Linked DNA regions of Homo sapiens: region 2 is linked to region 1. The links are contacts of gene promoters, found by promoter capture Hi-C in human tissues and cell types (Jung and others, 2019). All regions are on one chromosome and are shown on one strand. The core of a region is centred on a gene start or on the middle of the fragment in contact, and the rest is flanking DNA. Distances in the headings are between cores, read along the strand shown. Region 1 holds the start of MYCBPAP (MYCBP associated protein). Region 2 overlaps LOC101927253 (a long non-coding RNA gene).

What was found. The method cuts DNA at HindIII sites, captures the fragments that hold promoters and counts their contacts. A contact is called where the count stands out against the background at its distance.
Region 2: a fragment that was not itself captured here is called in contact with the fragment with the promoter of MYCBPAP in region 1 in 10 of the 25 tissues and cell types used here (H1 embryonic stem cells, IMR-90 fibroblasts, bladder and 7 more).

The regions. Positions count from the first base shown.
Region 1 is chr17:50,503,561-50,509,688 of GRCh38, reverse strand. MYCBPAP (MYCBP associated protein) reads right to left here and starts at 1,250. Exons shown (of 19, transcript NM_032133.6): 1 at 939-1,250. The coding sequence starts at 1,014. RefSeq lists enhancers at 1,025-1,154, 1,175-1,234 and a silencer at 1,255-1,544. The HindIII fragment of the contact is 18,604 bases long and covers 1-6,128 here.
Region 2 is chr17:50,624,666-50,630,981 of GRCh38, reverse strand. LOC101927253 (a long non-coding RNA gene) reads left to right here. Exons shown (of 2, transcript XR_243718.2): 2 at 3,642-3,952. CACNA1G (calcium voltage-gated channel subunit alpha1 G) reads right to left here. Exons shown (of 38, transcript NM_018896.5): 38 at 3,508-4,965. The coding sequence ends at 4,231. Among named protein-coding and RNA genes, the nearest start is that of ABCC3, 7.1 kb to the left of the region's middle. RefSeq lists an enhancer at 4,661-5,433. The HindIII fragment of the contact is 3,018 bases long and covers 267-3,284 here.

The DNA.
Region 1 (6,128 bases), core at 1-2,500:
CGCAGTGGTCCATGCCTGGAATCCTAGCAGTCTGTGAGGCCGAGGCAGGAGGATCGCTTGAGGCCAAGAATTTGACACTAGCTGGGGCAACACAGCGAGAGCCCTGTTTACAAACACACACACACACACACACACACACACACACACACACAGAAAAAAAAAGCTAAAAATTAAATTTAAAAATAAATAAATGGAAACAGCCAAAAAAGATCAAAAGGGGGTGGGTTGCAAGTGAGAACATGTCCATGGAAGTCAGTCCGCTATCAGACGCCCTGTGGCTCTCCCAGGTGCAACCAGAAGAAAGCTGTAGAGGGTAGGAAGCAGTCATATCTAGCGATTCTTTCCAGGCTAAAGGAGCTGGATAAGTGTCATCCAGCTGGAAAGTGCACGTGGTAGGAAAAGGCAGTCAAAAAGAGAACTAGCCAAGCAAGGCCTTTCTTCTGGGTTTTTCCAGCAGGAATCCTAAGTGACGCCTGCCCCGCTCCCCGACCCTCCTCTACCAAATAATCCCATCAAGGTGGCTGGTTTCAACACTTCATTCTTTCCTCTTCCCAAGGACCCCAATTCCTGGCCCTTCTACCCTTAAACTCTTTCCTGGCTCTTCTGCACTTCATCCAGTCCGGGGATCCTGCCTCCTGCATGCCACCCTAAGATGTGGTTAGAGGTAGCGCAAGGCCATCTCCCCAGCCAGTGGTCCCTGAGGCCCCTCTGTCAGTCTCCCACTTCCTATGTCCCCATCCCCAAGGCCCAGTGCGCTGTAGGCTCTTCCTGCCTTGCCCCCCATCCCTAAGGGTCCTATGCCCAGTACCCCACTTCCCCGTGATCTTTCCTCCATCCCTGGTGCCATCCCCATCCTCCAGGCCCCGTGTCCTGAACTCTTTCCGGGGACCGCTTCCCCTCTCGGGTTCTCCCGAGCGCCCAAGGCAGCCAGCGCCAACCTTTGACATTCTCTGAGGCCTCTAATAATCTGGTCGGAGTTATTCTGAGGCGGGAATCCTTCTTTAGAGACTTCATGGTGCCGCCCGGCACCATGAAACGTTGCCCTGCACCGCCGGCCCAGAGACACCGAGGCTGCGCCGCACCCGCCAGCCAACGGCCGCCACTGCGTCCACAGCAACCGGTGCCCCGCGCGGGGGCGCGCATCCACCGATCAACTTGGGCGGAGACGGCTTGGAAACCTCCTTCTTCATCGGGCCGCGCACGCGCCCGCCGCCGGCGGCTTCAAGAGCGACGGACCCCTAGAAAGCCCTGCGGGCCCGGCCTGTGACGCCACAGGCGGCGCCGACGAGCGCCGTGACGTCACCAGCCGGGCGGGGCGGGGCGGGGGACCCGGGCGAGGACCCCCGCGAGTTGCGGGAGCCGAGGGCTGGGTGGGAGTGGCTGGCTGGTAGGGGTGCATGACCCGCCTCGCCCCGCCCTGCTGCTAGGCCACGGGGGGCGGGTGGGGCGTCGGGGGTGCCAGCCCCTGCTTCCCGCCTTCCTCGACTAAGGCCACATCCTGTCGAGGGACCTCCCTCTGCCCCCCTCACAGCGGTTCTGGGGGGGGATCGGGCCTTTCAGGACGTGCTGAAACCCCTTCGTGGCGTACCGTAGGTTTTAGGTGTCCCTGCCTGCCGTCCCCAACTCGCACCAACGCGCCTGGAGACCTCCCGGGTCCACGCTCGCTGCAGCCACTTTGGCCTTTCATCACTTCCCAAACCAGCCAAAACTTTTGCCCTGACTTGGGGCATTCTCACAGTCCTTGGAGATGCTGCCTCTGATTATTTTAAGTTTATAAACGCACCCGCTTTTTTCGCCTTCCCCTGGAGCCCTGAGGCATTCTGGGATTATTTCGGTTTTTTGTGTAGTTGCCTATTGTCAAACTGGCTCTCAGAATGTATGAGAGCAGGAGCTGCCTCAGGCCCTGCCCCCAACCCAAAGTTTAGCACTAGTAGTCAGGCAGTAAATTGTACCTCAAATAGTGAAGGGGTTCTAGAGCCAGACAATTGGGTTCTAATCCCAGCTATGTCGGCTTGTTAGCTGTGTGTTCTTGAGCCAATGCCTTGACCTAGAGAGCCGGTTTTCTCTGCTGGGCACAGTGGTTCAGGCCTACAATCCTAGTGCTTTAGAAGGCTGAGGCAGGAGGATTGGTTGAGGCCAGGAGTTCAAAATTGACCTGAGCAACGTAGGGAGACTCCATTCTAAAAAAAAAAAAAAATTTTTTTTTTTTTTTTTTTGAGACGGAGTCTTGCTCTGTGCCCAAGCTGGAGTGTAGTGGTGCCATCTCGGCTCACTGCAACCTCTGCCTCCCAGGTTCAAGCGATTCTCCTGCCTCAGCCTCCTGAGTAGCTGGGATTACAGACGAGTGCCACCATGCCTGGCTAAGTTTTGTATTTTTAGTAGAGATGGGGTTTCACCAGTTGGTCAGGCTGGTCTCGAACTCCTGACCTCGTGATCTGCCCGCCTCGGCCTCCCAAAGTGCTAGGATTACAGGCGTGAGCCACCGTGCCTAGCCTAAAAAAATTTTTTTTTAATTAGCTGGCTTTGGTGGCCCACACCTGTAGTCTTAGCTACTCTGGAGGCTAAGGCAGGAAGATTGCTTGAGCCCAGGAGGTCCAGGCTGCAGTGAGCTCTGATTGCACCACTGTACTCCAGCCTGGGCAACAAAGTGAGATCCCCATCTCATACATCCATACATACATATATACATACATAAAATGGAGGTCATAATGCTGCTCTCACAAGGCCACTGCCAGGGTTAAATGAATATGTATGTATTTCTTTTTCTTAGCGAGTATCTCACTCTGTTGCCCAGGTTGGAGTGCAGTGGCACAATCATAGCTCACTGCAGCTTCAAACTCCTGAGCTTAAATGATCCTGCTGCCTTAGCCTTCCGAGTAGCTGGGACTACAGGCATGTGCCACTGCACCCAGCTAATTATTAAATTTTTTGTAGAGACAGGGTCTTGCTATGTTGTTCAGGCTGGTCTTGAACTCGTGGGCTTAAGCGATCCTCCCGCCTTGGCCTCTCAAAGTGTTGGGATTACAAGCATGAGCCACCTCACCTGGCCTGAGTGTGCATTTAAACTACGAAACAGGGTGCCCTCCATAAACTGTAGTATCTTCTCAGTCAATTCTCAAAATCATGCTGGGGTTGAAGGGAGGGGACACATTATAAGCCCATTTTACAAACGGAGAAACTGAGCTCCAGAGAGAAGGGTGTAATGTCACCTGACTAGCGGGAAGCACAAATTGAACCTGGTTTTCTAAAGTCCAAGGCCAGGGCTCTTTGAACCCTGTCTCCTGGGACATTTCTGAGTTTGCAAGAGCTGCCCCAGACAGCGGAGGAGCTAGAGACGATGCCAGCAGTGCTGGTGAATCCCTGAGTTCCCTGTGTGTTGCCCGTTGCTGGGTCCTGCTCCAGGGCCATGGCCCCTTCTTCACACTGCTCTAGACCTTGCTCTCCTTATGACTGAGGCATCCTCCACGGACAGCCCCTCTCCTGCTCTCCGAGGCCCAGGCTCTGGCTTCCCTCTACCCTCTAGAGAATCCCCAGTTCCGTTTACTTCGCGACTGAGCACTTATGATCCAGCAGGCTAGGTGCTGTGCCATGTGGGTCCTCCAGGAAGCAAGCACTGAGATGAACATAGGACCGCAAGAGGTTTATTGCGGAGAGAGGGGGTAGTGGCAAGGCCGGTGAGGGAGAGGAAGCAGGAAAGGGCTGGGAGAGCCTCAGACTGTGCTGCAGATCTAACAAAGTCTTGGCCAACCCAGCATGTCCTCTGGGCAAAGAATGTTTGTTAGAAGTTGTCAGCTAACTGCCCTCCTTGAGGGTGAATGGCAAGTTCTTTCTTGAAGGGAGACAGGAATGGCTCACCTCCGTGGCTGTCCCAGAAGCTCTGTAAGATATGGAGGAAAATAAGAAACATTTCCTCTTGCCCTCTAGGAGCTCAGAGTCCACTCTAGAGCAAAAGACAAACGCTCATGAAACTCTAATCCGTGCACCCAGTTTCAGGAAGAAGGCCTTTTAACTTTGGGAAGTTACACAGCTTGTGGGTGGCATGTTTGGGAGCAGGACAGAGGCTTGGGGATTGTGACGGGAGGGTTTGGTGACCAAAGGACAAGGGAAGAAGCAGGTAGGGGAGTATGTGGTCAGGCAGGCATGCAACCTGGCTGGGCTCTGCCACCAGCCCCTGAGTGACCTTGGACAGGTCTCACCCCCTGTCTGTGTCCCAGTATCACCATCTGCATCATGACATGAAGGGGTCCAGACCAGATCAGAGCTGCTTCACCTTTTGAGAAGCCAATCAAACCTAGGAATCTTCTCCTGAGAAACGTGCATTTGACTTTTTTTAAAACTGTTGTAAAATACACATAACATAAAAGTCACCATTTTAATATATTCAACTGAGTGACATTTAGTACACACACAATGTAGTGCCACCATCACCACTACCTACACTACCTACATCCAGAATGTTTTCATCATCCCCAAAGGAAACCCTCTACCAGTCATTCCCCAGCCCCGACCCCCATCCCCTAACAATCGCTAAGCTCCTTTCTGTCTTTACTGATTTGCCTATTCTTGATACTTCATATCAATGGAATCATACAATATTTGGCCTTTTCTGTCTGTTTTTTTTTTTTTCACTTAACACGTATCAGTGACTCCATTCCTTTTCGTGGCTGAATAATATTTCGTTTATGGGTATACTGTATTTTGTTTATCCATACATTTGCACATCTGATTTTGCACATGACTTTGTATTCAATTCCAGAGATTCCCTGAAGCTCACTGATGTGCGACTGGGGTGGGGGTAGAAGAAGGTCAGAGTGCTTTAGACACAAAGTGGGGTCATTTGAAAGTAGATTTCCAACTCTAATGTGTGAGCTCATGGGGTAGTCATTAGCTGCAATTTAGGAACCACAGACTGGATATGAGGGGGGCCTTCTTAGAGGAGGTAGCACTTCTTAGAGGAGGTGGGCCACTAAATAAAGAGTTCAATGGGTAGTTCAGGGGGCAGGTACTCCAGGTGAGGACACAGAAGGTACAAAGGCCTGGAGGGGGCTGGGCATGATGGCTTGTGCCTATAATCCCAACACTTCGGGAGGCTGAGGCAGGAGGATCACTTGAGCCCAGGAGTTTGAGACCAGCCCGGGCAACATAGTGAGACCCCGTCTCTACAAAAAAATTTCTAAAAATTAGCCAGATGTGGTGCCATGCCCTTGTGGTCCTAGCTACTCAAGAGAGTGAGGTGGATGCATTGCTTGAGCCTGGGAGGTCGAGGCTGCAGTGAGCTGTGATTGCGCCACTGCACTTCAGCCTAGGGTGACAGAGCAAGACTCTGTCTCAAAAAAAAAAAAAAAAAAAAAAGCCCAGTGTGTGTAAAGCACAAGCTCAGATGACAGCATCGCTTCACCAGCATAGCTCCCGCAGTCTCCTCCCAGCGCCACAACTCTGAGCAACTTCCTGGAGCCCAGGGAGGAGGAGGTGGTGGCTAGGTTGACAGAGGACACGGCATAAATTATTGCTTCATGTCTCTGTTTATTTCCACCCATCCAGGTGCTGAGCATGTCGTCAGCTACTCCTAAACAGCCTCCCTAAATAGAAAGCGCATTTCCTCCACAGACCGCATCATCCATTTCCCAGGGACAGCCACCCTCCTAAAGACTGAGGCTCGGGGTCATCTATTCTCCAGCCCCTCACATCTGATCCCCCTCCCGGTTCATCCTGCCACTCTGTCTCACTTTCGCATACCCACCTGGCCTGCTCCCCTATTGTTTCCATTGTGCCTCCCCAACCAGGTCTGACCACCCCCACACATAGCTGGCTGATGCCCCTCACATCTGCCCTCACCCACTCACATCTGGCAGCTGCACCCCTTAAACAATGCATCACATCACTGCCCTCCTTACTACAACCTTGCTCAGCTCACACTCAGCAGGAATCTCACATTCTTCTTAGCCCCAAACACAGGACACAGCTGGACTCTGCTCCCAGAATGGACTGACTTCAGCTTCAGGGATGACACAGAGACTCTGGGACCTTCTTAGGAAGGACACAAGGAGGGATTTTCAGAGGCTTTGGAGTACAGTGTGTGTTTGCTTCTCAACTTTGCCCCCACTTGGGCTGTCTGCTTTAGAGTGGGG
Region 2 (6,316 bases), core at 526-3,025, 120 kb before region 1:
CCGTGGGCTCAGCACTCAGATGGCGGGGATTCCTGTTTGGGCTTCTCCATACACAAAGTCCTTCACTGGGCCCTGCAGGCCTGCTTCCTCCTTCTGAGGTTATACAGGGCACCTGTCCCTAGAAGGTGTCCATCGGTGTTGGTGCCCTCTCCCTGGCTTGGTCCCTTTGCAGGAGGGGCACCAGGTGGCACCAGGTGAGGGTGCCCTGTGCCGCCACCTGGTGTCTGATGCCCTCATTGCACTGCTGTTGCCAGCCCCACTCCACGGGCTGCTCAGCTGGCCCAAGGGAAGAGAAAATAGGCCATGGGGCACCAGGCTGTGGCAGGTGGGGACTAGGGTGGAGATAGGAGTGAAAGCTGTTTGGAAAGTGGGTGAGGTTTAGGTAGGGCAGGGTTAGAGGAGAGGAAGAGAGAAGAAGGCGGGATGGGGAAAAGAACAGGTACCATGGGGTTCAAGGGCAGCGTTATGCTGCGGAAGGGTGGAGCCTGGGAACCCACAGTGATTGCAGAGCTACCCTTGGCCAGCTCTTGGACAAGCGCCTGGAGCTGAGGGATGCCTTCTCCTGTGATTGAACTCCTCTCACCACCATTCCCTATGGCCAAAAGCTGGTGGCCCACCAGGTGGGAGGCTGGGGGCCTCTCTAAGCCTCTGAGTTTGCCATGCGGGGAACACGTGTGCATATTTGTATGAACGTGAATGTGACTACTTTGGAAAAGCGCCCACCAGCAAGTCATTTTTTGAGCAGGATTCTTCCCATCGTGCCCCATTTCCTCCACACTGAGAAGAGACAGGAGTAGTGTGGGCTGGAGGTTGGCCAGACGTAGGGTCAAATCTCAGCTCTGCCATCTCCTGGCTGTGTGACCACGGGCAATTCACTTAACCTCTCTGAACCCCGCTGCCTCATGGAGAAATAGCAATCAGACTTCCCTTGCTAGGGTGTGTTGAGGAGTGAGAGACTGCATATGAGCCTCAGATTTGTTTTTATCCCCAGCTCAGCTCACTCCTCTTCCCAGTCCCCACCCCCACACAGACCTTTTCCTGGAGTCTTGGGGGTGGAGGAAGCAGAAACAGCCAAGCTTGAGGTGGGGGCCTACAGCCGCTGTCACAATTTCTTCTGAACCCCGAAGGGGAAGGCTGAGGACAAAGGCACCAGGGTAGATATTCCTAATTCTAAAAGCCCCCACATCCCTGAAGCCCCTAGCCAGTTCCATTCTGCCCCTGGAGTCCTCATCCAAGACCTGCTGCCCCCACCATCCACTCCCCATCCCAGCCTCCTTCATTTTCTCCACCCCCTACCCCCACCCCTTATGTATCCCAGAGCAGCATCAAATAACCACCCAGACAAGCAGCATGAGGTTAGCAGTTTGATATTATTATTAAGATCCAGCGGCAGCTGCTTTTCCACCTCAAAACCCTTTTAATGAGACACAACAGTTTCCATCATTGATAAAGATTTTACATCATTGGGGGGAGAGGTCACAGTTTTCTCCCCGACTACCCCAAAATACCCGCTTTGACTCTGTTGTTAATATTTCCACATCACTATCCAGAGGCTCCCCTCCAGGCACTGCCCTCTTCCAGAGAAACCCTCCAGGCCACAGAGAGGGCTGCTGGGGAGGGAATAGGGGAACCTTTTTGTTTTCACTGGGCTGGTCCCTGCAGATCTCTACAGAGCAACCCAAAAGCATAGTAAGTTCACCCCAAATTCCTTGGTCCCTACTGGGAAGAGGAGGCCAGGGGAAGAGGAACGCACAAAGAACCAGGCATGCTAAGACTCAACCTAAGCAACTCTCCAGTACTCTAGTGCTGCTGGGCTGGTGGTCGGGAGCGGGGAGAGGGGGTGCTGGAAGAGTGGGGAGGGGTAGGAGTCCAGCTCTCTGGCTTCACCTTGACCCAGAATCTTCTAACCACTAGGAGAATGAAAGATCCCAGAACCCCCTCCCCATACCCTCCAACGTCATTAGGGAATAGACAGCTATAGAATTCTACAAAAATATAAAAGCTTAGTCTGCAGATCCAGGTGACAGAACTCTAGGAATTTTGTACAGCTTTGCTTTTTTTATCTTAAATGGCAGCTCCTACAAGCACTCCCTCTCCCCACCCAAGGAGGCCAGAGGAAAAAGTTTGACATTATTGCACACCCTAAAAGGATAAAACCAGGCTTTGGCTTCAAGGAGCGGTATGAGTTCTGTCCAAAAGAGCAATGAGAAAAGCTCTCACCCAGCTTAGAAAACAATGCTGGACAACGCCTCCAGGTCCACTCGCCCGGCAGCCTGGTGCCCCCAGCTCCCAGTTGACCGGATCAGACGGTTTGTGAGCGAGCGTTGCCACTGAGGTTTCAAAAACCCAATCCAATCCTGGGGTTTGAAGGCCCTGGGGGCGAGGGGAGGGGGCTGTTCAAGGGAGTGGGATTGGGACAGATGTTTGGGAGGTGGCTAGGTGACAGGCTGGCTGGACCCATGGTCACCACCTCTTGGCACCAAGATTTCAGACAAGAGAATATTGTCTGCAGTAGCACCAGACAGGTGGCCTGGGCCACGCCACTCCCCCTCTTCCTGTCTGCCTGCCCCTGGCCACCTTCACACCTCCCTCCTCCACTGGCTCCCGCTAGGCAGGCAGCAGCAGCAGTGCATGTAAACATCTTGAGCGCTCGCTCATCACCGCCCAGGGGGCCAGCTCCCCACTCAGCACCTGGCCTCTGACCCTACCACCTCCACCAGGAGGTTGCCTCTGGACGCCCAGCCCTGGACTCTCATCCTCAGGAAGCACAGCCCACTCCGTTGACACGGTTTAATTCCATTGCGGGCAGGTGGACGAGGTCCCCATCGGACAGTGCCTGTAATGCCAGTCAGCTAAGCCCGCCCCCAAGGCAGGAGGCTGAAGTCCAGACAGCTCAGGTCACGCATCCAGCCAGAAGTGTGGCAAATCCGTGCTGAAGCTTCAGGAAGGAAAACCCAGAAACACTTCCCCCCTCCCCCACCAACCCACAGATCCAGATCTGCAGCCTCTGAGGCAACCTCCCCCAGCCTCAGTCGGCCCCATTAACCAAAACAGCTTCATTATGCCAATTTCCAGCTTTCAATGTGCGGCTGATAGCTGTCAGCAGAAATAAGAGTTAATCTGGAATTACTCCCATTCACTGAGCTGCCTAGCTAGAGGAAGCTGTAAAGCTTTGATAGCAGCAGAAGAGACCCTGCCTCCCCAGCCTGCACCAGGCGGAGGGGCTCCTCCTCTCCTTCACGGCTGGGGAGGGCAGGCTAGAGGTGCAGCCTTCCACAGCAAGGGGTTCAGGTTCTCTCACTCTCAGACACACACACTCTCACACTCATATACACACACGCACTCATATACACAAACACATACACACTCATACACACACAAAGAGGCAGCCCTGAAGCTTCCCTCCCCGCCGCCCACTCCCCATCTCCAGGATCTCTCTCTCATCAATGCCATCTGGACGTGCCTAACTCTCCATCCCTTTTGCTTTTACTCTGGACCGTGATTAGCTTTTTATTTAGGAAAATTACTTTATTTTATATATATATAGATAGATAGATAGATATGTATGTATGTATATATAAAAAGGTTCCATTTCACTTGTAAAATCTCATTTTTTCTTTTTCTTTTTTTTTTCCCTACAGAAAATGATGACGAGGTTAAAGGAAAAAATAAGTTACATTACAGTTTCCAAAATGGTTCTCGCTCTCCGCTGAAGATGGGCCACCGTTGGGGCTGCAATGTGCTCGCGGTCCCAGCTTGTGCTTTGCAAGAAGAGGGAATATAACTAGACTGTTATTTTAGGTTAAAATAGCCAAGAGACAGACGCCTTCGCCTCAAAAATATTCTGAGACACATAAAAGTAGAAGGAAACAAGTCTCTTCAGTCACAAAATGTCGTACATCCCGCATATACTAGATTCAATTAATTTAATAAAATAGAATATACATAGAGATTCTGCACAAACGTATTGCTTTCTCCCAACAGCTTCTGGTGTCGGGAACCTCAGCTGCACCGGGCCTCTCCTTCTGCCTGGAGCCAGAGTTGCCGGGGCTGCTGCTTTTAACTCTCTTTGGAAGTTCTGCTTGCAGGTACCCAGAGCCACTGAGGCAGGGAGGAGCGCCTCCGCCTCCTTGGTGTCTATATGGAACTTTTGTCAGGAATATAGCCCAGGAGGAGGAGCTAGGACTTGGCACCCAGTGGAGAAAGGTGAGTGGGAAAGTGGGGCAGGACTCAGGGGTCCAGGTCTGCTGGGTCAGAGGATAAACCGGAGAGACTCAGCACATCTTTCTTTGGGGAGGGCGAGGCAGCCATGCTGTCAGGGGGGCCAGAGGCCAAGGGATCCTTGGAGTCGCTGGACGGAGCCCTCCTCCGGAGGCAGATACCAGGGCTGGGCGGGGTCCGAGGACCTTGGCTCTCGGGGGGGTCTATGGTGATACTAGGCGGGCTGAGTTTTTTCTTGGGCCGGCTCCCAGGCCCCCCAAGAGGCTGGCCCCCAAGGTTAGAGGGGTCTGTGCCCAGGTGGGGTTGGGAGCCGCTGTCCAGGCAGCTGACGGCGATAGAGTGTCTCCTCTGCTCATCCAGCCAGGACGTAGGCCGGCGCTGGCAGCTCTGGGCCTCCACGCTGTAGCACTTCTTCAGGTCCCGTGGGGATGGGGGCTCCTCCTGGCCGCCAGGGGGCAGGAGGTCTCCTGAAATCCAGCTCAGCTCCGTGTCCAACTCTAAGCTGCTTCTGGTCTCTGGAGGGCCCTTGCCCCAGTTGGGTTCTGGGCCTGGGCAAGGGGCTGGCGGGGTCATGTGCTTGGAGATCTTGCTGTGGCTGCGGGAGTGCTGCTGTGCCTGGGTACTTGACTGGCCCCAGAAAGAGTAGGCCCGGGCCAGGGGCGGGGAGGGCCCACTCACCTCTGCCAGCAGGTCTTCCCGGCTGCCCAGACCCTGAACGTCCAAGGAGTCAGTCCTTATTGCTGCCTATATGGGGTGGGGGAGGGCTCAGCCCAGCAGTCTCCTCTCCAGCATGGACTAGCCCTCCTGTCAAGCTGGCTGTGCCCCCTGCCCACCACCACCAGGCACAGCAGGACTATCCTAAGCAGAGGTCCTGGTAGCCGCTCTTACTAGTAGATAGGGGTCATTGCAGCCTGACCTCTGTTGTCCACCATGCCTCCTCTCTCCCCACTAAACCCTGTCTTCCCTCCCCCATGCTCTGGTCTCCCCTAAGCCTGCAAGAATCGCTCTCTCTGCAGCCCCTGCCTCCTGGGATATGAGAGAAGCCAGGCCATCTCTGCTCACTGAGCTGGCTCCTTCACGCCTCCCCGCCTCTGCCTAGACTTCCCCTTTGGCTCTGAATACCCTTCCTGATTGGCAAGAATCCCTCGATTTTACGGACTCAGGTTCTCTGTGACACAGTGTGTGACAGTCTCTGTCCCCAAGTAAAACCGACCCCTTCCCCTTCTGTGTCCCTGCTGCCCTCCACACATAGGTGTCTGGCAGCTGTGAGCTGAGGCTGCAATGATCTGATGGCAGGCATGTCTCCACTATTAGACTGTGAGCTTCAGGGGGCAGGGGCTGTGTCGCCAGTGCCTGGCACACAGAGGCTGCTTAGTGACTATTTGCAGAATGAATAAGGACTGTGCCTGCTCCCCCAAGCATGTGGGATTGAGATTCTCATGTGTCCACGCTCATGCCTCAGGACACACACATGGCATGGGCTGTGGCCTTATCACAGGTGGGCTCTGGGGCCGGGCGCGGTGGCTCACGCCTGTAATCCCGGCACTTTGGGTGGCCGAGGCGGCCAGATCATCTGAGGTTGGGAGCTCGAGCTCAGCCTGACCAACATGGAGAAACCCCATCTCTACTAAAAATACAAAATTATCCAGGCATGGTGGCGCATGTCTGTAATCCCAGCTACTCGGGAGGCTGATGCAGGAGAATCACTTGAACCCAGGAGGCGGAGGTTGCGGGGAGCCAAGATTGTGCCATTGCACTCCAGCCTGGGCAACAAGAGCGAAACTCAAAAAAAAAAAAAAAAAAAAGAATCTGGGCTCTGGAAGGTGGGCCCTAGGCTTGGCCAAAAGTGAAGACACTTAAAACCTGCCTTGTGCCCCATAGCTCAGTCCAAAGTGGGGAGAAGAATTGGGAGGCAGCTCTGGTTGGTGAGGAAGGAAAGACCAGAGACTGGGGTTCTACCTCCGACCAGATAGGCATGACCCTGGGCAAGCACTACCCCTTCTGGTCTCCAGGCCTCCTCAGTGGAACAAGGAACTGGGTGCAAATTTCAAGAAGGCACAGACCACTTCTGCTTTGCCCAGTACTGTGTCCCTGG